Linked DNA regions of Homo sapiens: regions 1, 2, 3, 4 and 5 are each linked to region 6. The links are contacts of gene promoters, found by promoter capture Hi-C in blood cells and fetal thymus (Javierre and others, 2016). All regions are on one chromosome and are shown on one strand. Each heading gives the region's core, a stretch centred on a gene start or on the middle of the fragment in contact. The rest is flanking DNA. Distances are from core to core; before and after follow the strand shown.

The links. Contacts are between HindIII fragments. The CHiCAGO score rates a contact against its expected background, and 5 or more counts as called.
Region 1: a fragment that was not itself captured here is called in contact with the fragment with the promoter of MLC1 in region 6 in 4 of 17 cell types (erythroblasts, megakaryocytes, total B cells and 1 more); the score reaches 6.4 in erythroblasts.
Region 2: a fragment that was not itself captured here is called in contact with the fragment with the promoter of MLC1 in region 6 in 1 of 17 cell types (neutrophils); the score reaches 5.3 in neutrophils.
Region 3: a contact is called between a fragment that was not itself captured here and the fragment with the promoter of MLC1 in region 6, in 4 of 17 cell types (total B cells, erythroblasts, activated CD4 T cells and 1 more). The highest score is 6.0, in total B cells.
Region 4: a fragment that was not itself captured here is called in contact with the fragment with the promoter of MLC1 in region 6 in 4 of 17 cell types (erythroblasts, megakaryocytes, neutrophils and 1 more); the score reaches 12.0 in erythroblasts.
Region 5: a fragment that was not itself captured here is called in contact with the fragment with the promoter of MLC1 in region 6 in 11 of 17 cell types (neutrophils, M0 macrophages, activated CD4 T cells and 8 more); the score reaches 9.1 in neutrophils.

Annotation. Positions count from the first base shown.
Region 1 is chr22:49,790,458-49,794,791 of GRCh38, reverse strand. It overlaps BRD1 (bromodomain containing 1), which reads left to right. Exons shown (of 13, transcript NM_001304808.3): 7 at 498-758. Among named protein-coding and RNA genes, the nearest start is that of BRD1, 35 kb to the left of the region's middle. The HindIII fragment of the contact is 1,166 bases long and covers 1,998-3,163 here.
Region 2 is chr22:50,356,930-50,361,147 of GRCh38, reverse strand. The region is part of intron 1 of PPP6R2 (protein phosphatase 6 regulatory subunit 2); the gene reads right to left. Among named protein-coding and RNA genes, the nearest start is that of PPP6R2, 16 kb to the right of the region's middle. The HindIII fragment of the contact is 1,222 bases long and covers 1,492-2,713 here.
Region 3 is chr22:49,772,912-49,777,533 of GRCh38, reverse strand. BRD1 (bromodomain containing 1) reads left to right here. Exons shown (of 13, transcript NM_001304808.3): 10 at 373-500; 11 at 1,375-1,484; 12 at 1,789-1,943; 13 at 3,118-4,251. The coding sequence ends at 3,301. Among named protein-coding and RNA genes, the nearest start is that of BRD1, 53 kb to the left of the region's middle. The HindIII fragment of the contact is 4,454 bases long and covers 375-4,622 here.
Region 4 is chr22:49,808,752-49,813,308 of GRCh38, reverse strand. All of the region lies in intron 2 of BRD1 (bromodomain containing 1), which reads left to right. Among named protein-coding and RNA genes, the nearest start is that of BRD1, 17 kb to the left of the region's middle. The HindIII fragment of the contact is 4,355 bases long and covers 646-4,557 here.
Region 5 is chr22:49,750,395-49,754,438 of GRCh38, reverse strand. No RefSeq gene overlaps it. Among named protein-coding and RNA genes, the nearest start is that of BRD1, 75 kb to the left of the region's middle. The HindIII fragment of the contact is 4,339 bases long and covers 563-4,044 here.
Region 6 is chr22:50,083,677-50,087,619 of GRCh38, reverse strand. MLC1 (modulator of VRAC current 1) reads left to right here and starts at 2,194. Exons shown (of 12, transcript NM_015166.4): 1 at 2,194-2,265; 2 at 2,659-2,894. The coding sequence starts at 2,718. RefSeq lists an enhancer at 1,922-2,546. The HindIII fragment of the contact is 3,674 bases long and covers 1,491-3,943 here.

The DNA.
Region 1 (4,334 bases), core at 1,331-3,830, 290 kb after region 6:
AGCATCTGAAGACTTCAGCTAAGACACCACTTAGGACGTGCAATGGCCCTAACTTAACACATTTGCCAGTCGTCACCTCTGTTTGCAGAGCCAGCGCAGGTCCAGCTGAGTTGTGCTGGGTTGGTGGAGCGTGCGCCTCTCTCTGGGGTCTGTGTGCTGTGCCCTCACCCAGGCAGCCAGGCTGTCTGCACAGGCAGCCTCAGTGGGTCCTGGTCCAGGAGAGGTTGCGATCTTACCTGGACGCTGCCCCTTCTGTGCTGACAGTGTCATGGGAGTAGAAATTCTCCATCAGGAGCATCCCAGTGTGTTCCTGTAGCAGCAGCTACTCGTGGGTTCAGAGTGCAGGGGAGGGGCCTCTGGTGAGCAGGGCCTGGGCCTCGTTGCTAACAGCCACTCTCAGGGCCTTGGCCGAAGGTGATTTGAAAGACGGGACCGGTGATGTGTTCCCAGAAGGTGCGTGGGACCTGATGACTGACAGCATGTGTCCTTTGGTTCAGTGGACAGGTTGCTGGACCCCGCCAACAGAGCCCACCTGGGCCTGGAGGAGCAGCTGAGAGAGCTGCTGGACATGCTCGACCTCACCTGCGCTATGAAGTCCAGCGGCTCCCGGAGCAAGCGGGCAAAGCTGCTCAAAAAGGAAATTGCCCTTCTCCGAAACAAGCTGAGCCAGCAGCACAGCCAGCCCCTGCCCACGGGGCCAGGCTTGGAAGGCTTCGAAGAGGACGGAGCTGCGCTGGGGCCGGAGGCGGGCGAGGAAGGTAAGCCACGGTGAGGGCTGCCCCGCTTTCTTGCCGTCACGGCTCAGGCTCAGGCACAGGCACAGGCACAGACCCAGACACGGGCAGCAGCGTTGGTGTGCACGGAGGCTCAGGTTAGCGCCAGTTCCGTAAAATTCACAAATCCCGGAACACTTGATTTTCCCACTGGGCTGTTGTTTCCTTTTAAGGAGACGTTATCATTTGTGCTGTCTGTGTTTTCTCACATAATCAGTTGATAAAATTTAAGGCACAGAATAAAATTTTTCTCTTTAACTTGGGCCTGAGAAACTATTTGAAAAGAATGGTTTAGATCTTACACTGTGTTGAAGAGTAAAGGTAGCCTGAATGATGAGAGTGAGAAATGTTTTTGTTGCATTTTGTAAATTGGCGGGGAGCCATTTAATTGTGCGCTAGGCCATCAAATGCAGCATTTTGAAAGGGCTGTTTTAGATTATTGGCACTTAAACACTCCTCCCTGATGTTGTGAAGGGAGGGACGGTACCTGCAGAGGCCTTGTCTGCCCCGAGGGTCCCCGGCCAGCTCCTCTGCAGAGTTGGTAGGTAGCAGCCGTGATCGTTGCCAAAGAATGTCTGGGGAAAGGTCCAGGCAGCAAAGATGTTTTTATGACTAAGAAATAAATGTAGGAGAAGAAATCCGCCTATCTAGAAGGAGAACTAGCAAAACCCAGGGCAAATGCAGGCTTGGCATGGTGAGGAGGGAGTTTACGAGCGATGGTCTGTGTACATCTAGGTTGGCAGGGTGAGGAAGTAGAGCTGGTGTGTCCCATATTTGGTGAAAGAGGAATTTTAAAACTAAATCGGATTTGGAGACGTTGATAGAAAGTCATTGCCACTGTGTTTTGCCGTGTGTCTCTGCAGTTGACCTTGACACGCTCCGGTTACACGAAGCAGACAGTAGGGTCAGACCCTCTTGCCACAACATTGGCAGCTGGTTCTCAGCCTTCTTGCCCTTCCCCTGCACATCCAAGTCAGAACAGCAGACAGTTGAAATAAGACACAGAATTGTTGTACAATTTTCTTTTAAAACAAAGACGTTCATCTCTTATGGACGTCTGTGCTCGGAGTGACGCAGTGTCTTCATGATGCCACACAGGTCAGCGGGTCCCCATGGTCTCAGGGCCCTTTTCATCCCCTGAACTTCTTGTGGCTCCTGTCTGCAGAGCTTCGCCCCTTTTATCCTGTTTTACATTTGGGCAACTTGAATGAGAGCCATTAAGCTTTTCTTTCTCTTAGAAACTTACTCCTGTGCACACAGCTGAGAATTTCTTATGCATCCTTTTGCTCATTTTGTGCCTGTTTGTTGTTCTGTTCTGGGATTCTTCTGTTTAGTTCACCATAGTATAGTACCCAGACTCTAGAATGTCTCTTTTGGGGCTGGCGTCAATTACGTTAGGTCCATAGAATAAAGGCTTTTCTATTTCAAGGTGAGCGCTTGGTTTTCTCTTCTCCCAAAGGCTGTTATTGTTGGCACGTGATCCCTCCTCTGCTTTGGGGGCCTCGTGTTTTTTCTGAGGAACGTTTGCCTACAGGACCCTCTGGCAGCCATACCTGTCCGGGCCCTGGGCCGCCCCATTGTGCCCAGGAGTCCAGGCTGGTGCCTGGTCCCGCAGCCTTTGCTTCCGTGCAGCCCACCGAGGCATCCTCTGGCTGTGTGGGCCTCCCTCTAGGTGGACTGCCCTTCTGTCCTTGTCTTCTGTGCCCTGAGGACTGAGCTGTGAGGAGGTTGCCAGCAGGTCCACTCACCATTCTCAAAATAGCTTCCAGCGCTTCTCTTCGCACACAGTTGTACCATTTTCACTGTAGAGCAGTAAGTTACCTTTTTAGCTTTTTTTTTTTATCAGTGGCTTCCTCCATTGCCATTGGGTCACAGGGCTGAGGACCCCGCACGGTTATTGGGTCACAGGACTGAGGACCTCGCATGGTTGAGGACCTCGCATGGTTGGAGCTGCTTGGCCCTCCGCTGTGGTGAGCGTGGCTCCTCATAACACCCAACGCTTAGCAGGAGCCTTTGGAGACCATTTTTGTTGCTTTGTAGCTCTGGAATCATTTTATTTTTATTTTTTTTCTGGGGCCATTGTAAGGAAAACACAATGTGACTGAGACACAGGTGGCCTCGAATCACCTGTTACACCCAATGTTCACAATGACTCAATTGATGAAAAGGGCGTTTCCTGTGAGCTGATGGGAAGGTGGGTGGAGAAGCAAGTGGCCTGAAAGTCCACTCCGAGGTGAGGCGGGTGGGGTCCTGCCCCTCAGAGAAGTTGGGGGTCTCTGGAGAGGTGGGGCGGGCGGGGTCCTGCCCCTCAGAGAAGATGGGGGTCTGTGGAGAGGCGAGTGCCAGACTGGAATGGGGAAGTCATTAGGGAAGACAGCCACAAGCAAGCTTGTTGGTTGGTATAGAAATGTGACTTACGATACTTATAATAGGATGAAAACCAAGAATCAGACATTTAAAAACCCAGCATGAACGTTCTCATCAGTAAAGCCTCTCCATCATTTTTCTTAAATATAACCACAATATTTTCACACCTGAAAAGAGTAATTCCTCAATGGCAAATACACAGTCTCACTTAAACTGTAATTTAACAGTCTGTGTGTTGTGTTTATATTTTGCTTCCACTTGAAGCAGCTTGAACAAGGCTGTAGCCGTTGAGTGCCAGGCCCCTGAGACTTTAGTGTCTGAAGGAAGGAGATGCCTCCTGGGCTGCACTGTTGGCCCCGGTCTGCCCCTTGTACAGGCCCTCCCGCAGGCTCTGCCGTAGCCGCGACTCAGTCTGCCGAGTGCAGAGGTTCGGGCTGTTGCTGTGAGCTGGCCCTGCCAGGGCTGACTTCCCCGGGGCTGCGTGTCAGCTGGGTGGGGGCCACGCCACAGCTGGGATTCCAGCCTGTCTGATGAGCCTGTGGGACGGATCTGCAGCTGGCAGAGGGCTTGTCTCCACCCTGTGCTGAGGTTGGTGTCTGCTGACATGGTGAGGCAGGTCAGTGCAGTCAGGAGGAGCAGGGTCCGCACCGTGAGCTGGTGAAAGGGGCTTGCATTTCGAGTCCTTGGGATTTCCAGTCACAGTGATGCCCTTGCCAGAGGCTCCGGGGCGTCCCCTTTAGTCCAGGGCAGCTGTGGTCCCTTGAAGTGCACGTGTGGAAGTCCCCCTGCCGTGCACGGGCGCTGAGCACGTGGAGAACTGTGGCCCTCAGGAAAGGAAGGATGCATGTTCCTCGGGGTAGAAGGTGCGGAGTACGCAGCTTTGTCCCTTCAGGATTGCAGAGGACGGAGGCTTGAGGCAGGGTTGTTGGAGGGACAGTGTGGTTGCTGCTCGTGAGCTGAAATGTCTGCCTGTGTTACGCTGTGATTTTCCAAAGCGTCTTGTGGCTTCGATACAGAAACCTTTGATTGACATAGCAGGTGGCCAGGTGGGCAAAATATTGCGGAATTGTTCTTGCAGACTTAACTAGGTTTTAGTTTCTTAGAGTAGCTGGTTTGGATTAGATAACCATTTTGCCATTTGGAATATGTGACAAGTTCCAGGGACTGGAATTCTAGGATCCTGACTGATACATT
Region 2 (4,218 bases), core at 853-3,352, 270 kb before region 6:
AACTAGTCCAGGAAGGGCATCACAGCAAAGAGCTGAGAAAGGGTCAGAGCAGAGTTCCACAGGCTTAGAGATGGTGGGATCATGAGGAGAGAGAAGTCAAGTCTTCAAAGTGGAGCAGTCAACAGGATGATGAGTGACAGTCAAATTCTTGAAGAGCTCCTAAAGGTCTGACTGTCCACAGTAGCCCAGAGAGAGGACACTGGGCATCAGTCAGTTCATTCAGCAACAAATGTAGCTAATAATGGGACAAACCTAGTCATGCCCCAAGGAACCTGACGTCTAGCAGAGAAAACAGATACTGACAGACTCTACACAGTGCCAAACCTGAGAGAGACTGGTGTGAGCAGCAACAGTGGGCAGAAGCACAGGTCAGCTCCCTGGCTCACACCCAATAGGTGTCCTATCTGTGAGCTCTGACAGTGTAGCTAACTGCCAGCTTCTCTGTGGCTCCTCGGTAAACAGGGATAAAAATACAGATCTCCTGGGCCAGGAATGGTGCCTCACACCTATAATCCCCATGCTTTGGGAGGTCCAGGCAGGAGGATTGCTTGAAGCCAGGAGTTCAAGACCAGCCTGAGCAACACAGAGAGACCCCATCTCTAAAAACCTTTTTTTAAATTAGCCAGGTGTGGTGGCATGTACTTGCAGTCCTAGCAACTCAGGAAACTGAGGCAGGAGGGTCTCTTATGCCTGAGAGTTCAAGACTGCAGTGAGTCATGATCATGTGTTCATACCACTTGCACTTCCAAGTGGGCAGCAGAGGAGACCCTGTCTCTCTTAAAAAAAAAAAAAAAAAAGGCTGAGCATGGTGGCTCACGCCTATAATCCCAGCACTTTGGGAGGCCAAGGCAGGCAGATCATGAGGTCAAGAGATCAAGACCATCCTGGCCAACACGGTGAAGCCCCATCTCTACTAAAAATACAAAAATCAGCCAGGCGTGGTGGCACGCACCTGTAGTCCCAGCTACTTGGGAGGCTGAGGCAGGAGAATCGCTTGAACCCAGGAGATGGAGGTTGCAGTGAGCCGACATTGTGCCATTGCATTCCAGCCTCCATGACAGAGCAAGAGTCCATCTCAAAAAAAAAAAAAAGTGCTGAAAGGGAAAAAAAAAGCTGTTAACCTAGAATTCTGTATCAAGCAAAAATATCCTTTGAAAACAAAAATATAAATAAAGACATTTTAAGACAAACAAAAGCTGAGGGAATTTGTCCTTATCATACCCACATTACAAGAAATCCTGAAGGAAAATAATCCCGGATAGAAATCTGATCTGTAAAAGAAATGAAGAATTTCCCAACTCATTCTATGGGTCCCAGTATTACCTTGATACCAAAACCAAAGACATCAAAAGAAAAGAAAGTCACACACAAATATTTCTTAAGAAGGTAGATGTAAAAAGCCTCAACAAAACACTACCAAACCAAATCCAACCACATATAAAAAGGATTCTACACCATACCACAGGGGATTTAATCCCAAGAATGCAAGCTTGCTTTAACACCCGAAAATCAATTAATTTAACATATCACATGTGGATAAAGGACAAAACACAAGTGATCATCTCAACATACACAGAAAAAGCATCTGACAAAATATAAACCTTTTTCATCATAAAAAAAAACACTCCACAGGCCGGGCATGGTGGCTCATGCCTGTAATCCCAGCACTTTGGGAGGCCGAGGCGGGCAGATCACAAGGTCAGGAGATCGAGACCATCCTGGCTAACACGGCAAACCCCATCTCTACTAAAAATACAAAAAATTAGCCGGGTGCGGTGGTGGGCGCCTGTAGTCCCAGCTGCTCGGGAGGCTGAGGCAGGAGAATGGCATGAAGCCGGGAGGCAGAGCTTGCAGTGAGCGGAGATCACGCCACTGCACTCCAGCCTGGGCGACAGAGCAAGACTCAGTTTCAAAAAAAAAAAAAAAAAAAGACCAGCCTGGCCAACAGGATGAAACCGTGTCTCTACTAACAATACAAACATTAGCTGGGCGTGGTGGCTGGTGCCCATAATCCCAGCTACTCGGGAGGCTGAGGCAGGAAAATCACTCAAACCCAGGAGGTGGAGGTTGCAGTGAGTGGAGATCGCGCCACTGAACTCCAGCCTGGCAATAGGGTGAGACTCCGTCTCAAAAAAAGAGTTGGGGGGGGGGGGGGGGCGGTTCTTTTACACTACTTGGTTTCAGGATATACCATTAAGTTACAATAATCAAGACATCGCGGTGTTAACACAGGATAGAAAATAAACCAATGGAACAGAAAAAACAGAAATAAGCCTGCAGACATGTTTAATTAATTTATAACAAAGGTTCCAATGGAATTGAATGGAGAAGAGAGTCCTTTCAACAAATGATGGCAGAATAATTGCATATCCATATGGAGAAAAATGCATCCTGACCCCACCTCACATCACACACAAAAATTAAAGCAAGATGGATCATACAGAAAAGAGATCAGCAGTTGCTTAGAGAAGGAGGGAAAGGATAGAGTGGAAGGAAAGAATCCCAATGGCGCATGAGGAAATTCTGGGGACAATGAATATGTTTACTATCCTGACTATAGTGACAATTTCACAAATGTATACATATGTCAAAACTTATCAAATTTTATACTTTAAGCATGTATAGTTTATCATATTAATTTTATCTCAATAAAGCTGTTAAAAAGAAAAAGATGGATGACAGACCTAAATACAAAAGCTACCACTGTAAAGCTTCTACAAAAAACACAGGGCAGCATCTACACAACCTGGTGCAGGCAAAATTTTCTTAAGACACAAAATAATCATAACAGAAAAAATTGGTAAATTTTTACTATATCCAAATTAAAATGTTCTGTTCATCAAAAGATACCATTAACAAATAAGAAACAACAAAACAAAATAAACAAACAGGAGCTGGGTACACTGGTTCACACCTGTAATCTGAGCGACTCAGGAGGCTAAAGGTGGAGGATCACTTGAGGTCAGGAGTTAAAGAACACCCTGGGCTACGCAGAGAGACCCCCATCTCTACCAAGAATTTTTTTTTTTTTAAATTATCCAGGTGTGGTGGCTTGTGCCTATGGTCCTAGCTACTTGGGAGGCTGAGGTGGGAGGATTGCTTCCGAAGGTCAAAGCCGCAGTGAGCCACGATCACGCCACTGCACTCCAGCCTAGGCAACAAAGCGAGACCGTGTCTCAAGAAATTAAAATTTAAAAAATTTAAAAAATTAGCCAGGGGCCAGGTGCCAGGTGCGGTGGCTCACACCTGTAATCCCGGCACTTTGGAAGGCCAAGGAGGACGAATCACGAGGTCAGGAGTTAAAGACCACCCTGGCCAACATAGTGAAACCCTGTCTCTACTAAAAATACAAAAAAATTAGCTGGGCTTGGAGGCAGGTGTCTGTAACCCCAGCTACTCGGGAGGCCGAGGCAGGAGAATCACTTGAACCCAGGAGGTGGAGGTTGCAGTGGAGATCATGCCACTGCACTCCAACCTGGGTGACAGTGCAAGACTCCATCTCAAAAAAAGAAAAAAAAAAATTAGCCAGGGAGGCTGAGGTGGGAAGACTGCTTGATCCTAGGAGTTTGAAGCTGCAGTGAGCTATGATCACATTTACTGTACTCCAGCCTGGGTGACAGAGTGAGACCTCATCAAAAAAGAAAGAGAGAGAGAGAGACAGGGAGGAAAAGGGGAAAGGAAGGAAGGGAGGTAGGGAAAGAGAGAGAAAAAAGAAAAAGAAAAGAAAAGAAAGAAGAGGGATGGAGAGAGGGAGGGAAAGAGATGAAAGAGAAAGAGAAAATAAGCAACTAGTATAACAAAAAAAATTCACCCCCTTCCTCTTCCTCCCCTCACTATGTATGTATATGCATATACGCATGCACACACCACAAAGGACTTGTAACCAGAATTTATTTTTGTAAACTCCTAAAAGTGAATAAAAGAACAATCCAATAAACAGTGGGTAAAAGCATGAATAGATATTAATATTTCACAAAAAAATACACGAATGGCCCGTAAGGCACCTGAAAAGTTGCTCACCATCATAATTCATCAGACAAACTCAAATTAAAACCACAGTAAGATACCACTACCGCCTGAATGGCTAAAAGTAAAAAGGCTAAGTGCTGTCATAGGCAAGGAGAAAGGAATTCTCACCCATTACTAGTAGGAGTGTAAAATGTTTCCAGTTTGGAAAACTGGAAGTTTTGTTTTTGCTTTTTTGTTTTTTTTTTGAGA
Region 3 (4,622 bases), core at 1,352-3,851, 310 kb after region 6:
TTGTGGACAGTTTCCCATGCTGCATATTAATCTGCTTTATAGAATTCAAGCAGAAGTAGGAAAAACACTGCGTGAAATAGGAACACAATTTTAGAATCTGCAATGAAGTTTTACACTTGATCTTTACCTCCCAGAATCTGGCAATGAGCACAGCCCTGCCTGTCTGCCCTGTGAAGGCCACTTTGGCCTCCTGAGTCCCCCCTGCCACAGGTTCACTCCCTCCAGACCTGCGCACCCACAGGCCCGTCTGGCCGCGGGGGTGTCAGGCAGGATGCGTGGCCAGCTTGGTGGCGGACAGCTCACGGGACGAAGCCCGAGTGAGGCTGAAGGCAGGGGCGGGGCGCCTGACTCCCTCTGCTCTTCCTCCCGAAGCTTTAATGCGCCCAAATGTGGGCGGGGCAAACCGGCTCTTGTGCGACGGCACACGCTGGAGGACCGCAGTGAGCTGATCTCCTGCATCGAGAATGGGAACTACGCCAAGGCGGCCAGGATCGCAGCCGGTGAGTCGCCCGGACCTGCCTCCATGGCTCTCCACACCTCCTGGTTAGCGTCTTAGGGCTCGACTGCTGGGGACTGGACTCCGGCTCAGGGAGCATGGTGCCCTGTGTGGAGCCCCACCCTGGCCAACCTCCCGGGGAAGGGTTCATCACACACCGAGGGGCTCTGGGCTGTGGCCCTGCCGGGGTGCCTGCGGAGGTGGCGCCTCCTCCATCCTGCCTTCGTTTCCCTGTGGAACGTCCAGCTCTGTGTGGCTGCTGGTTGCCAGGCACTGTCAAGGCTGTCTGGGGTTGTTTAGGTTCAGTGGTCATTTGCAGCTGCACAGGGGACTGACTGCAGGGTGGGTGCCCTCAACTTCAGGCCCCTGGGGGAGGGGGAGGCCCCAGGGTTTGGGGTCGCACAGCCCTCACTGTGGAAGGCAGCCATGCTGTGAGGGGGCATCAGGACGGAGATCCCCCAGGTGGGAGGGACAGCAGGGAGCTGGTCTGGCGGAGGGGGAGCCAGGACTTTGGTTTCCCATTTGGGGTGTCAGTTGTGTAAATGAGGCAGGAGCATGCTGGGAGCCCCGTCCTTGCGGCAAGGAGGGCTCAGAAGGGACTGTGCTGGGCACCTGGAGTTGGAGCCTTGTAGCCTGGAGGGCAGGAGCTTCCCTGGGTCCGTGGGAGGCTGGTGGCCCCAGGTGGGCTGCAGGGACAGTGGGGATGCAAGGGCCTGGACCCCACAGGGGAGGCAGTGGTGCTGCCGGGGTGGCTGAGAAAGGCCTGGGAGCTGGGCTGTGCTCGGGGGACCCACCCTGTTGCTGCACCTTTTGTGGGGGGGCGGGGCGTGCCCCGTGTCCTGCTGACGCCTGTGTCCTGCTGACGCCCCTCTCCGCAGAAGTCGGCCAGAGCAGCATGTGGATCTCCACTGATGCCGCCGCCTCGGTGCTGGAGCCTCTGAAGGTGGTGTGGGCCAAGTGCAGCGGCTACCCCTCCTACCCGGCACTGGTGAGTACGGCTCTCGTGGCGCCTGCGGGTCCAGAGGAGGCTCACACAGCTGCGGGGCGGGGGTGGTCCGAGGAGGCTCACGGCGGTGGTCCAAGGAGGTTCCACAGCTGGCGGGGGGGCGGGGTTGGTCAGAGGAGGTTCACACAGCTGGAAGGGGCAGGGGTGGTTCGGCGAGGGGGGCGTGGGGGTGGTCTGAGGAGGCTCACACAGCTGGGGTGGGGAGGCGGGGGGGGGTGCCAGTGACAGGTGGGGTTGTTTATGGGTGTGAGCCTCACAATGACCTCAGCGGGTCCTTCTCGTGCAGATCATCGACCCCAAGATGCCCCGTGTGCCTGGCCACCACAACGGCGTCACCATCCCGGCCCCACCCCTGGACGTGCTGAAGATTGGGGAGCACATGCAGACCAAGTCTGATGAGAAGCTGTTCCTCGTTCTCTTTTTTGATAATAAGAGAAGTTGGTGAGTTGAGAGGCCTTAGACTCCGGGGACCGGCTGGGGTGGTTGGGGGCCGTGGGCTCGGTGACCTGAGTGTCCCTGTGGTGAGCAGCGTCTTTGTCTGCTGGGCCCTGGCACAGCTAAAGTCGGAGGTGAGTGCTCCGCTGTTTGCCTGGTGGAGAAGGGCACTGCCCAGCCCCCTCGCCGGGACTGTGGGACGGGCACTGAGCACCGGGTCTGTCTCTGCCCGATGGCTTCCTCTCCCTCTCGCCTGAGCCCCATTGGTCTGGACTGTCTCTTCCCTACTCCTTACCCATGTGTCCGCTCCAGTGTTGGGGGTCCCTCTGCTGTGCTCCCGGACCCCTGTACTGCAGGACATGGCCCCTGCCCGGGCCTGGCCTCTGGCCCTGTTCTTAGAGCCTTCTGTCCCAGCATCATCCAGCTCTGCTCAGACATCCACCCCATCACAGGAGGCTCCCCCTGTGCCCTGAGCTGCTTTTCCCCAGAGCGTCTGGGACCCTCATGTGCCAGGGTTTAGACCCCAAGATCCCTCTGTGCAGGACACGCTGGCAGCACATGCCTCTGGGAGGAGCTGTGGCCCCGGCTGTGCCCTGCGCACGTGGCCCGGGCAGGTGCTTCCTGGTTCCCCGTGGAGCTGGCTGCACTTGGGACCTGGCGCAGGGGCTCGGGGCCACCTGCCTATGGTGTGCCTGGAGCAGGACTGGCAGCACAGGCATCCCTACCGTCTTTCTCTTCCTTGCCTCGACCTCTGCCTCTTTGGCCACGTGGCCACTGCTTCTTGTCAGGCCTTGAGCGAGGCCCACACCTTGTCCATCCGAGGGCCCCTTTGATGGGGTCTCCCCAACCACCGGCCTCTGCTCCAGGGCCCACCCTGACTCTGGGCTTGGTGTGTGCATGTCTTGTCACTAAGCAGGCACTGGGAAACGTTTTGGAGGTGGAGGAGGAGGTGATGGTTTTTATGCCTTACTTAGCTCCCCGTATCCCCAAGTCGGGGAGGGGAAGGGAGGGGTGCACTCCTGGCCTCGGGCCTGTCCCTGCACGGGGCCCAGCTGTCTTGGTGGTGCTGAGCAGGGCCCCTTTCTATCGGAGGGCAGTGAATTTGTTAGATGATTACATGGAGCCTGCTGAAATACCATGTGCAAGCAATGATTTTCCGCTTGTTTTTCCTTTTAAAAAGGCAGTGGCTTCCTAAGTCCAAAATGGTTCCCCTTGGTATTGACGAAACTATAGACAAGTTAAAGATGATGGAAGGGAGGAATTCCAGCATCCGGAAGGCCGTGCGGATCGCTTTTGACCGCGCCATGAACCACCTGAGCCGCGTCCACGGGGAGCCGACCAGCGACCTCAGTGACATTGACTGACGGCCCGGCCGCCAGCGCGGGTCTTGTCCATAGTGTTGATAAGCTGTACATGTTTGTATATTGTTCAAAACTTAACTTATTCTGATTTTTAGTTATAGCTCTTTAATTCTTTTTCCCCGGGGAGGGGGGAGGTTTTATTTCCAAGTTTTCTAGGAACCCATCTCCGTCTGGGCGCTGTGAGTGGGGTGGGCACGTCCGGGCAGCCCAGTGCGTCTGTCGCACGTCCCCAGGCCGTGCTGCTGGCGTCACTTTCTTTGATATGTAGCTTTTTCTTAAAGACTTTTGAATGTTTAATAATTTTGTAAATCATGCTCTTTACACAGAGTACCACTTATTTAATAAGACGGGATGTAAATTTACAATGACAAATGTGTATTTTAAGAAAGAAAATGACATTATTTTGAATGGTACTTTGTGGAAAGAGGGGAGAATAAAGTTATGCTGTGTACATCACTTGCAGATCACCAAAAACACTCCGCTGCCCGTGACCGCCGGTGGGTGTGTCCCCGCTCCCGTCGTCCCGCCCACCTCAAACCCCGCAGGTGTGCCTCCCAGCGGATTATTTATTGTAGAAAGTGTATTCATTTGCTTTATAATGAAAAATACATTTGCAAAGGTATATTGATATGCATTTTTATACAGGCACATAAAAATTCAACTTGGCTTGGGAGCAGAATGCATTGCATTGTATAAATGACTCTGGCCTGTGTGTACTTTGATTTTATAACTTGTAATCTTTTGTTTACAATGAGGGGCTTTCTGTAACTTGTTTTAATTTAGAACACTTTGGTAGCAATAGAAACTTTGGATACATTTTTGTATGGTACCTGTGATGTATATAGAATTAGTACTTTATTTTTATTTTTAAGAGGTAAAGCATTATGTTGGGGAAAGTAGGGTGGGTTTCCAAATTTGCATTTTTTATATTAAAAATAAAGTCAAGATTTGGACGGTGTGGCCATTTTATTCCTACAGCCCTAGACGGCTAGGTGAGCCCCAAGGACGGGTGGGGTGCTGGCTGCAGGGGGCGGGGACACGCCTTTATCTTGAAAACTGTCATGGGATGGCATTATTTGTTATTTCACCTGATCATATTTTTATTTTAAAACTTCAGTTACATAAAAGTTTTAAATGCTTTTTTTAAGCCTACACCGTTTGTAACATCTCCATAGAAACTTGGAAATCAAGTCTTCCTTAGATAGTTGCTGTCCTGCATCTGGCAGGTGCTTCCTATCTGTCGTGGCTCTCCTTCCCACAGCCAGCCCCGCCCGGCAGGCCCCTCCCCACCACGAGCAGCTGGTGGCCCCCAGGATCACTCACC
Region 4 (4,557 bases), core at 1,574-4,073, 270 kb after region 6:
CAGAGGTTGCAGTGAGCTGAGATCATGCCACTGCACTCCAGCCTAGCGACAGAGCGAGACTCCATCTCAAAAAAACAAAAAATAGAGATGGCGTCTCACTGTGTTGCCTAGGTTGGTCTTGAACTCCTGAGCTCAAATGATCCACTCACATCAGCCTCCGAAAGTGCTGGGATCATAGGGGTGAGCCATGGTGCCCGGCCACCTCGAGGAGTCTTGAGCCCTCCTGGAATTGCTGTTTGGTGTGAGGTTGGGTCAGGCCTGGTGAGTCATCTGGGTTGTGAGCCAGCCTGCTTGGCCTCCTGGTCTCAGGCCAGCTGTGACCTGGACCTTGGGCCACCCAGCAGCTTTGTGCTGAGCCTCAGTCTGCGGTTGGGAGGGCACCCCTTGTCTCCAGAATGGTCCTGGCGTGTGAGGTCCTTGGTGCGTCCGTGTACAGTGGGCGGCACCTTGTCTCCAGAACGGTCCTGGCGTGTGAGGTCCTTGGTGCGTCTGTGTACATGGGCGGCACCTTGTCTCCAGAATGGTCCTGGCGTGTGAGGTCCTTGGTTCGTCTGTGTACAGTGGGCAGTAGCTTTAAAGTTCCTGCTTCACCTTGTCAGACTTCTGGTTAGAGTCCTCCCGACATTAGTGTTCCTTTAGGAAGCTTGGACTCTTTACACCGTTAATTACACTGTTAATTTCACTTAAACATGGAGGTGGCCCAGTTTGCTGCCCATGTAAGACTACTTTTACTTTTTTGAGACAAGGTCTTGCTCTGTCGCCCAGGCTGGAGTTCAGTGGCATGATCTCAGTTCACTGCAGCCTCCACCTCCAGAGTTCAAGTGAGTCTCATGCCTCAGCCTCCTGAGTAGCTGGGATTATAGGCATGTGCCACGACTCCTGGCTCTCTCTAGGACTTCTTTAATGTCATAATAGAAGCTGATGGTTTTCTCCATAAAAGTCTATTAGATTTATTTCTAGGCACTTGTTAATATAGTACTTCTTAAAATTAGCATTTTTGTTTTTAGCTATGTGTTGTAGATGGATACAACATGTTGTAAGATTCTTTTGGATCGTCTTTGTGGACAGTATCTGTGAAGAATGACTCCTGCCTCAGTCTCCCACTTGAACCCAGGAGGTGGAGCTTGCAGTGAGCCGAGATCGCGCCATTGCACTCCAGCCTGGGTGACAGAGCAAGACTGTCTCAAAAAAAAAAAAAAAAAAAGGAGCAGACTGTGCTCCTTGCCATAGGATTTTATCCATGTTCTTTTATTTCTGCCTCTCAAATACTGTTTAATCTTAACGTATTTTTAAATTTTGTGTGATTTTTCTGTTTTTGAGAGGAATTTTTGATATGTTAATACTATAGATCTTAGTATATTTTAAAAACTGATGATGTTTGATACATGCCAAATCATGTGTGGACCATAAATGTAAATAGCAATGCCCACAAACCCACCCATAGCCTAGGAATTGGGAGACTCAGCACCGCCGGCTGAATTCGCCTGTGCGGTGTGTCCCATTCCATCCCTGTTCTGCCGCCCGTGGGGGAATTTTGTCAGCTTCACTGAGACACTTAGTACCCTCCCCTTACCTGTGGTTTTGCTTTCCATGGTGTCAGTTGCCCATGGTCAGCCATAGTCTGAAAGTATTAAATGGGAAATTCCAGCAGTAAGCAGTTCATAAGTTTTCAGTTGTGCACCATTCTGAGCAGCGTGATCACAGTCTCCCTGTCGTGTCCTGCCTGCCGGGAGCGTGAATCTAACCTTTGTCCAGTGCACCCACGCCGTGCAGCTGCCTGCACCTTAACCCGCTTAGTAGCAGGTACCAACATCCAGGCTGGCGCTCGGTCCTGTTCCAAGTTTCAGGCAGCCGCTGGAGGTCTTGGAACCATCCCCCTTGGTTAAGGGGGGACTCTTGTCATTCACACACCATGAAATTTACCCATGTGAAGTGTACAGTTGAGTGGATTTTAGTTCACAGAGTTGTGCATTTATCACCACCACCAATTTTAGAAATTTTTATCACCTCCAAAGGAAACCCTGTGCCTCTTAGCCATTACCCCAACTTCCCACCTTCTCATCCTCCCCCAGCCCTGGCAGCCACCCATCTGCATCCTGTCTCCGTGTATTTGCCTGTTGTGGGCATTTCATAGAAATGTGTTTTTTTGTTCTTTTATGAAATGTGTTTTTTTTGTTCTTTCACTGAGCATGTTTCCAAGGTCCATCCATCGTGCCCCCTGGGTCGGTGTGCCATTCCTTTTCACGGCTGCGTAATGTTCATTGTATGGATAGGCCACGTTTAAAAAAATCTGTTCATCTTTTGATGGATGTTTGTTTTTTTCCTACTTTGGAGCTATTATGAACAATGCTGCTCTGAACATTTGTGTAACAGTTTTTAGGTAGTGTGTTTTTATTTCTCTTGGGTATATTCTAGGAGTGGAGTTGCTGGGTCATGTGGTAATGCTGTTTAGTATTTTGAGGAAGTGCCAGATTGTTTTCCAAGGCAGCTGTACCCCTGTATATTCTCAGGCGCTGTCCTTTTGATGATACCCATTCCATGGTGCAGGGGCAGCGATCGCTCGGGGGTTTTGCTTTGCAGTTCCACAGTGGCTGAAGATGTTGCCTGGCCATTTGCATATTTTCTTTGGAGAAATGTCTGTTCAGATCTTTGCCATGTTTTCATTGGTTAGCTGACTTCTTACTGTTGTCATAAGAGTTCTCTGTTCTGGGTACTAGACTCCCTATTAGATACATGACTTGCAAATACTTTCTCTTCATTCTGTGGGTCATCTTATTGTTTTATTCAGTGTTCTTTGAAGCACAAACATTTACAAGTTGGATGGAGTCCAGTTTATCTGCTTTCTCTTCGGTTGCTTGTGCTTTTGGTGTCACATGTAAGAAGCCTTTGCCTAACCAAGGGTCTTTTAATAGGAGTTTTATTTATTTTTATATGTGCACATATATATATATTTTAAGAGCTGGGGTCTCACTGTGTTGCCCAGGCTGTTCTGAAACTCCTGGGCTCAAGCAATTTTCTCGCCTTGGCATCCCAAAGTGCTGGGATTACAAGTGTGAGTCACCGCGTCTGGCCACTGTTTTCCTATATATGATAATTTCTACCTTTACCTGATAGCAGTCTAGAAGCATGTGGGGCTTGCTTGCTTGCTCGCTCGCTTTCTTTCTTTCTCTTTCTTTCTTTTTTAACCAAATTAATTTTTTAAACTCTTGATATCCATTGCTTGTGCTGTGGGCAAAGGACGTGACCTGCATGGTACGCATTCATTCTTTGATGCTTGTTGAGACTTTATGGCCCAATAGGTTATACATTTTTTATAAATAGTCCATCTGTGCTTGTGAATATGTGTGTTCTTTCTTTCTTTGATGCAATATTCTCTATGAGCTTGTTGGGTCAAATGTATAAGTCATGCTTACATTTTTAATATCCTTAATTTATTTTTGCGTGAATTGGTTTCATTAGGCTTGTAGGTTTAACAGTTCTCATTGTAGCTCCTGGAGGTTTTGCATTTGATATTTTCAAGATGTCCCGTTAGGCAGTGTGTACGCATTTGGAATTTGGTCACTTCCTTCGATCATGGTCCAGTAGCCCTCATAGCCCTCTTCACTCCAGTCATGGTGTTTCTCTGGCCTCAGTTCAGCTGATCGGTCAGCAGTACCCACTTTCTGCTCCTTAATGTACACCTGAACATTTTCCTTATGTCCAGCTTCAGCCTTGCTGTGGTATTTTAAAACTGGAATTACATATATATATATATATATATTTTTTTTGGAGACGAAGTCTCATTCCGTCACCCAGGCTGGAGTGCAGTGGCGCGATCTCGGCTCACTACAACCTCCGCCTCCCGTGTTCAAGCGATTCTCCTGCCTCAAGCCTTCCAAGTAGCTGGGATTACAGGCACCTGTCACCACGCCTGGCTAATTTTTGTATTTTTAGTAGAGACGAGGTTTCACCATCTTGGCTAGGCTGGTCTTGAACTCCTGACCTCATGATCCACCTGCTTCGGCCTCCCAAAGTGCTGGGATTACAGGCGTGAGCCACTGCACCTGGCCTAAAACTGGAATTTTAAATTTTTAACCAGATTGACAACCTCTTCATTAGCAACTTTAGACTGTTGACTTATGTTGGATTACTGATCTATTTTGGATTTGTTTCCATGATCCTTTTTTTCCCTTTTTCTTTATTTTTCCTCTGAGACTGAGTCTTGCTATGTTGCCCAGGCTGGAGTGCAGTGGTGTGATCTCGGCTCACTGTAATGTCTTCCTCCCGGGTTCAAGCAGTTCTCCTGCCTCAGTCTCCTGAATAGCTAGGATTACGGGCGTGTGCCATCATGCCTGGCTAATTTTTTTGTATTTTTAGTAGAGATGGGGTTTCACCATGTTGGCCAGGCTGGTCTTGAACTCCTGACCTCATGATCTGCCTGCCTCGGCTTCCAAAAGTGCTGGGATTACAGGCGGAAGCCACTGCGCCCGGCTCACTTTTTCTTCTGATGTATTGACTCAGATGGTTTTGCTGTTTTGGAGTCGGGGGCATTTTTCCTCCTCTACTCATTTGGAAGGT
Region 5 (4,044 bases), core at 1,483-3,982, 330 kb after region 6:
GGGTCCTGGCGAGTGTCCCCTGGGACCAATGGCTCCCTCAGGCCACTCTGTCTTGCCAGGGGAGTCAAGAGGTGCCCAGAGGTCAGATTCTCACCAAGGGAGCGCCAGGCAGGCTCTGAGAGCTGCCAGAGGCCAGAACCCATATCCTAACGCATTAGCCGTCTGGCCCTGCCCCATGTGTCTTCAAGGGGACAAGACTGGAGGGCAGAGTGGAGGAGATTCAGGTGTCCAGGCACCTGCTGCCAGGTGGGAAGTGTGATGAGGCCTCTCCCCACACTCCCTGCTTTGTGGAGGAGGCTGAGCGCAGCGGCCCTGGCCCGAGAGAGCCCTTGGGGTGCACGTGCCCCAGCAGGTGCGTCTGTGCAGGAGGCTGAGCGCAGCGGCCCTGGCCCGAGAGAGCCCTTGGAGTGCACGTGCCCCAGCAGGTGGGAGGCCAGCCCCACCCTGGATCACACCTGCCGTCCCTGGCGGTTCTGAGAAATTGCACTGTGAATGATGAGGTTCAGCTGGACTTTCTCCTGATAGATTCCTGCAAGTTAATTGAAAATAAAATGCACAAGCTTTTCTTTTAATGAGAAAAGGCAGATGTAGCTGGAACTAATCAGTGGGGGGCTGGGGCAAACTCAGAGACTGTGGAAGGAAAATAGAAGTTTGAAGGCATTTGAAAAACACGGCAATTCTCCCCAAACAGTGCCACGGTGATGCATTAATATCCTGAGTTCCGAGTTGTTGCTCCCGAGGCGATGACGACCCGTTACCCGGCACAATTCCCAGTTCCACTGTCGTTATCTCTTAATTAAATCACATTACTGTGGGTTTGCTGTCACAGTTTTACTGATGGTCCCTAGGAAGCTGCTTGGAGAGCCAGGAGCTGCAGCGTTCGGGGGCTGGCCTGGGCCTGAGGTCCACGAACCACGGCCCCTGGGCCCCTTCCAGCTCTGCTCCCCACCCGCACCCATCACTCTGCTCTTGGGGTGGTCCTGGCCCTGGCTACATCCCTCCTTCCTTCCCATGGACGTTCTTAGAAATGGGCTTGGCTGGCCGGGCGCGGTGGCTCACACCTGTCATCCCAGCACTTTGGGAGGCTGAGGCAGGTGGATCACTTGAGGCCAGGAGTTCGAGATTAGCCTGGCCGACATGGTGAAAACCCACCTCTACTAAAGATACAAAAATTAGCTGGGTGTGCTGACGCATGTCTGTAATCCCAGCTACTGGGAGGCTAAGGTACGAGAATCGCTTGAACCAGGGAGATGGAGGTTGCAGTGAGCTGAGATTACGCCACTGTTCTCCAGCCTGGGCCTGGGCGGCAGAGCAAGACTCTGTCTCAAAAAAAAAAAAAAAAAAAAAGAGGAAAGGGCCTGGCCACAGTTCGGCAGCAGCTCTCGATGCTGAGGGTGTCAGTGGCTGGTCCTCAGGCGTCTGGCCGTGACCTTCAGCCGCGTTATTCTCTGCACTCAGCCGAAAGACCCCCCCCGAGGTCTCGTGATTAGAACTCCCTGAGCCCTGGAGACCTGCTGTGGGAACCCGTTGTGTTAGCGTCTGTCCTTGTGTAACAAGGTCACCACAAATCTTGCAGCTCAAAACGACACACATCTGTCATCTCAGTCTCTGTGGCCAGCGGTCTGGCGCCACTTCGTGGGGTCCTCTGCTGGGCCCACAGGCTGCCATCAGGTGGCGGCTGGGCTGGAGGCTGAGCTGGGGCAGAGTTCACCTCCACGCTCACTCAGGGTGCTGGCAACCATCCGTCCTTCCAACTGTAGGACTGACGGCTTCATTTTCTCACTGGCTTTTGTCCAGAGGCTGCACTCTGGTGCTAGAGGCCACCGAAGGTCCCAGGTACGTGGTGTTGCCCAGCACGGCTGCTGTGTTCCCGCAGCAAAGGAGACAGCGGCTCCAGCAAGGCAGGGTCACAATCGTGCGTGGTGTGGTCGTGCACACACACTTAGCCACGGACACTCTATCGCTTTGATCCTATGATGTGGCTTAGGAGCAAGAAACAGGTCCCGGCAACACCCAAGGGGAGGGGACCAGGAAGGGGCACAAACCCCCGAGCTGGGAGCGCCGACAGGTGAGGGGCACAGGCTCCAAGTGCATGCTGGGGATAAGAAAGGCCGAGGTACCCACGCTGGGTTTGCAGAACAAGCCCGAACCCCACCCCCTCCTCTGTCCAGTCTGAACCACACCCCTCCTCTGTCCAGGCTGAACCCCACCCCCTCCTCTGTCCAGCCTAAACCACACCCCTCCTCTGTCTAGCCTGAACCCCACCCCTCCTCTTTCCAACCCTGCCCCCTGTGAAGTTTCCTCAGCTTTTGCTTTTGTTATCGTGGGCATCCAGGCCCTTTCTGTTCAGTGTCCTCCTTCCCACACCCACTCCCCCTCTGTCTTCCTCAACATCCATCCCTTTGTCATTGAGAATCCAGACAGCGGCTGTTTCTAACCTCTTTCCAGGGTCAGAGTAGCCCTGGTGTGTGCCTGGCTGGGCTCCAGGCCTGCGCCTCCCGGGTTCTGGGGGGGCTCTGGGATGTGGTCCTGCCAGCGGCCTCTGACAGGGGACGTGGGGCACCATGTGCAACCCCTCTCCTCCCTGGAGCAGCTTTTCTGGCCCAGAGGCTGGGAAACATCTTCCCCTCAGGGTTTGGTCTTCATTCTTCTTGTTCCCGCTGAGAAACCACAGCCAGGTGGGCGCTGGAGGGAGCTGAGGGGCACCTGCCTTCCCGTCTCCTCTGCTCCTCCCAGGGTCACCTGCCCACTCGGCCGCAGGCTTGGCCTGGGCCTGGAGTGCACGGGCCATGTGTGGCCTGGGACTGGCACGCACGGGCCATGTGTGGCCTGAGACACGGTGTGATCACTTTCTGTATGATTTACTTCTGGAGCCCTGATCCTTGACTGATGATCAATGTGAGGTCCTTGCAAGTAAATTCTACCTGTCAGGCTAGATGCCAAAACATGTAGCATTCACAGAAAAGAAAAGTCTGGGCCGGGCACGGTGGCTCACACCTGTGATCCCAGAGCTTTGGGAGGCCGAGGTGGGCGGATCACAAGGTCAGGAGATTGATACCATCCTGGCTAACACAGTGAAACCCCGTCTCTACTGAAAATACAAAAACAAAATTAGCCGGGCCTGGTGGTGGTCGCCTGTAGTCCCAGCTACTTGGGAGGCTGAGGCAGGAGAATGGCGTGAACCCGGGAGGCAGAGCTTGCAGTGAGCCGAGATTGCACCACTGCGAGATCGCACTCCAGCCTGGGCGACAGAGCGAGATTCCATCTCAAACAAAAACAAAAACAAAAAAAGTCAGAAGTGACCCTGCTCCGCCTCCTCCAGATCTGCATTTAGTGTGTGGACCTTCATCTGAGTCTCTGAGGAGGTGGTGAAATGTGGCTTCTCTTCGAGGTCACACCTGCCTGGGGGTCCCGTGTGGGGTCTGCAGGGTACCCAGGAGGCAGGGAGGGTCGCGGGGGAGGGGACTGGGGTGTTTCTTCGCAGCCCGGGGCGCGGCGGCTCATGAGACCTCCGCGGGGAGGCAGGAGACAGCGTGGCCTTTCCCGGGGCTGGTGGGGCTGGTGGGGAGGAAGCTGGAGCCCAGGGCGGGGGTCCGGGGGATGGCGGGGTGGGGTCGAGGACCCTCAGGTGCAGCGGGCGCCTCTGTGAGGGGCCGGAGGGGGCCACTTCTTCCCTGGACCCCGAGGCCCCGCAGGGCAGGACATGGCTGGGAATCTCCCAGGGCAGTGAATGAGGGGCTCCTGCAGGGTGGGCCCATCTGCCTCATGGGGGGCCTGAGACAGGGGTGGGACCTGCCCTGCCCTCAGGGCCTGGCCTCCCCTCCCCTCCCCTTCCTTCCCTCATTCATTCATTCGTTCATTCATTCATTCACCCCTCTTGGGTCCTCCTGGCCGCACTGGGCCTGGCATGGGGGGGGTCCCTGCCGGGCTCTCCTGGTTGCCGCCCACCGTTCCCCCAGGACCCCGTAGCCCTCGCGGACCAAACCACACCTGCGCAGGGAATCGGCTCTGTCCCCTGCCCCATACTGGTGCTGCCCCCACGAT
Region 6 (3,943 bases), core at 945-3,444:
AGGTCTGTCTCAGAGTTGAAGCAGAGTCGTCTCCATACCCACAGGTGCTGGCACCTGGCTGTCCTACCTGTATCCCCCTTGCATGGTCCTCGCCTGCCTTCCCCAACCTGTGGCCTTTGCTTCAACTCTGCCAGCCTCCCCTCCCTGCCTCCTTCTCACTGAGGCCTGCCCTGGCCCCTGCAAACAGCAGCCCCTCATTTCTCTCCCCTGACTTCTTTTCCCTCATAGAGGAAATCATGTGTGTCACTGGATGCATTAGTCTGTTCTCACGCTGCTATAAGGACATACCCAAGACTGGGTAATTTTAGAGTCAAGTCCTTATAAAGGAAAGAGCTTTAATTGACTCACAGTTCCACAGGGCTGAGGAGGCCTCAGGAAACTTACAATCATGGTGGAAGGGGAAGCAAACATGTCCTTCTTCACAAGGTGGCAGGAAGGAGAAGTCTTGAGCAAAAGCGGGGAAAGCCCCTTATAAAAGACCATCAGATCTCATAAGACCTCACTCATTGTCAGGAGAACAGCAGCATGGGGGTAACCACCCCCATGATTCAATTACCTCCCACCGGGCCCCTTCCACGACATGTAGGAATTATGGGAATTACAATTCAAGATGAGATTTGAGTGGGGACACAGCCAAACCATATCACTGTATAACACACTAATTTGTTTATCCTGTGCACTCCTGTGCCCCCAATGAATGTAAACAGCCTATAGGAAGGACGTCACTTCTTTGTCCACCCCATAAATGTTTGTTGAATGTTGAATGATGATGGGACATCAGCAGGCAGAGGGATGAAGGGCATTTTAGGAGCAAGAATTTGTTGGAAGATTGTATGAAAGAACAGGGCCTGTTCTAGAAACTAGTGTTGCCAACAGAAACTTGGGAGCATTTCTCAAGTGATGACTTATGATCTGGGAAGCTGAGGGATTTGCTCTGCAACCTCTGGTTCAGGGCAGCTTGTTTGTATTTCTAAGTGGAGAGCAACTTTTGAAAGAAAAAAATGTTGAAATCCGATTAACATTTTTTTCCAAACAAAAAGAAACACAGGAGGATTCGATCCAGTTGGACCCACTCCCACTAATCCCGTTTATCGCTTTAAAAGATAGTGAAGTTTGGGAGGTTTCTCAATCCATTAAAATGAGTTCTTGACTTCACAGATTATAGTTTTTGAAAATTATTTCTCATCCTTGCTTGATTGAAATGAAGACAACAGAACATTGGCTGTGGTGGCTGGCACAAAATTAACTAACCCTAAAATACTAGTATAGCTTAAACTTTCGTTTATTGCTAAAAATTTATCACTGCTGTTTCCTGTGGGGGTGAGGTTGAGCAAAGTGTTTTGAGCTGCATTTATGCGTACTTGACACTTACGCATTTTGATCGAGGTGATTTAGTGGGCATTTTCACTGGGACAGGGATGCTTGTATGTGTAATCTTACTAAAAGCTAATAAAAACTTACTAAAAGCTAATAAAAGCTTACTAAAAGCTTCTTGCTTGATTGAAACGAAGACAACAGAACATCCCATGGTCTGGAACCTGATGACTTTGCTCAAGTTTTAATGTGGGTTCATGGTTTAAGGAGCTGGTTTTTCAGAAACTTTAGTTTGAGCCTTTTTACAATGTGCACAAAGAACCCGTTGCTGTAGTTGTCAGGGTGCCAGTGTCTCTGGGCGACACACATTACTGTGGTTTTTCTCTGCTTGGTGAGCAGAGATAAAGGGGGCAGCAGGACCGGGCCCACCAGCCATCCGGGCTGCCCACGCAAACCACAGGGCCGAATCCGGAGCCGCCCAAGGCCACACAGCTAAGCCGAGTGCGTGAATGCTTATGTGACCGTGTGAAGGAGGTTCCCACCGTGTGGCTGTGGGGGATGGAAAAAGGCTACTTGGAAAGATGTAGAAGACCTTCGAGTAAACAGTTACGTTTCAGAAACAGAGCCTGCTCAGAATGTGTACTTGGTGGGATTCTATTCTTAGGGACGCTTCTTTCTTCTGAGAGACCCGAGCTCTGTGGCGAGTGGCACAGGCAGGGCCCCTTCCTTTCCTAGTTGGGTTCTGACAGCTCCGAGGCAGTGGTTTACACAACCAACACGAAACATTTCTACGATCCACCCGATTCCTCCCCTCATTGATATTCAGGAAGCAGCTCTCCTTCCCCTGCCTTCAGCTCAAGTTTGCTGAGCTTTTGTTTCATTTGTGAATACTTCTTGCTGGAAGTCCCTCACCCAGAGACCAGTGCTCCCAACGGCAGAGCAGCGGGGGAGGTAAGTGCTCAGACATTAAGCCGTTGAGTAGAGGCATGTTTTGCAATCTCTCGTTTAGCTACCAATTGGAGCAGTTTAACGTGCTTGAGTCCCCGGCGTGATGTGTTCATGGACGAAGTTGCCGATGGATGTTGTCAGGTGTTGCACCTGGAGGGCCCAGATGGATCAATGAGGCATTTAAAGTGTAGAATCTCACCCTGAACCCAGACTATTCAGGTCCGTTTTTCTAGGAAAGTTATTTCTTTTTCACTTTTAGATTCAAGTGCTCATTTTCTTCTTCAAATTTAGAGCACTTCAGTATGAACAATATTTCTTTTGTTAAAAAATATTTCTTGGAAACAACTTATTGAAGTTTCCTCAGAGTGGCCAAAGCCGATGATAATTTTATTCCAGATAAAGAACTGGTGACACGTGGCTGTACATTCAGCACAGCTGTGGTGTCCCCAAGTGCCATGACCCAGGAGCCATTCAGAGAGGAGCTGGCCTATGACCGGATGCCCACGCTGGAGCGGGGCCGGCAAGACCCCGCCAGCTATGCCCCAGACGCGAAGCCGAGCGACCTGCAGCTGTCGAAGAGACTGCCCCCCTGCTTCAGCCACAAGACGTGGGTCTTCTCTGTGCTGATGGGGGTGAGTAGCTCCACACTAAGCCCTTGGAGGGCCACGAGCATCTGGTCCCTCTGGTGACGGACTGCAGCGCCCTGGAGCCCCAGGTGGGACAGAGAGAGCAACTCTCAGACTAACCCTGCTGCTGCAGAACTCTTGGATGCCGACGAGCTTGTTTTGCTTGTGTTTTCACAATTATTTTTATTAATTTATGGGTGTCTGTTGTGCCAGCCTTGAGCTGCTCCAGGTTGTGGCTTAGTCCCACCAGGGTAGGGACAGTCCCAGGGCCATGAATGGGCCCCAGGAGTCTCCATGACCCTCGGCTCTGGGGGCCCAGGGTCCTCTGAGGGGTCACCTGCAAAGGTGGGAGGAGGCGTCTCAGGCCTTCAGGTCGGCCCTCACAGAGAGAACCTCAGGGACCTCCTCCTCCTAGGGAGGGCCTCAGGGGCCGGCTGGGAGGGAGCTGGGGAACAAAGGAACAGGTCTGGGGTGGACGGGCAGCGCCAGATGTCCGAGGGATTTCCCTGGGGTCCTGGCCATTCCCTGCACAGTCGTGGGCACAGAGATGATTGGAGGAGCCACTTGGGCCTGAGTGTGTGCAGCTGCTCAGAGCCATGCTGCAGGACAGGCCTCTATGCAGGGACCCCCGGTTCCGTGTAGCTTGGGCTGAGAATGAGATCCAGGCTGTGATTTCTCCCCTCCCTGTGCCCTGGCCTCCGCCGGCAGCCCCTGCAGCACCCACAGTGGTCCTGCCCACCTCCCGTGGCCTGAGCATGCCCCACCAAGACAGGCGTCTGCCTCGGAGCTGGGGACAGAGGCGGCTCCCGGGTGGTGGTGGCCATCTCCGGGCTCTGCCCTCCTCCACCTGGTGCCCTGGACTTGGTCGCAGCCCCTCCCCCGCCCAGGCCAGATCCCCTCTGCCCCAGACCTCGCTTCCTCTGCCAGGACCCTGGGTCCCAGTGACCTTTGATACTGACTCCCCTCAGACTCACCCCGGGGGTGCTGTGCGTGAGAGAGAGCCCCCTCCCCACCGCACCCCTGCAGTGCTGTGCGTGAGAGAGAGCACCCTCCCT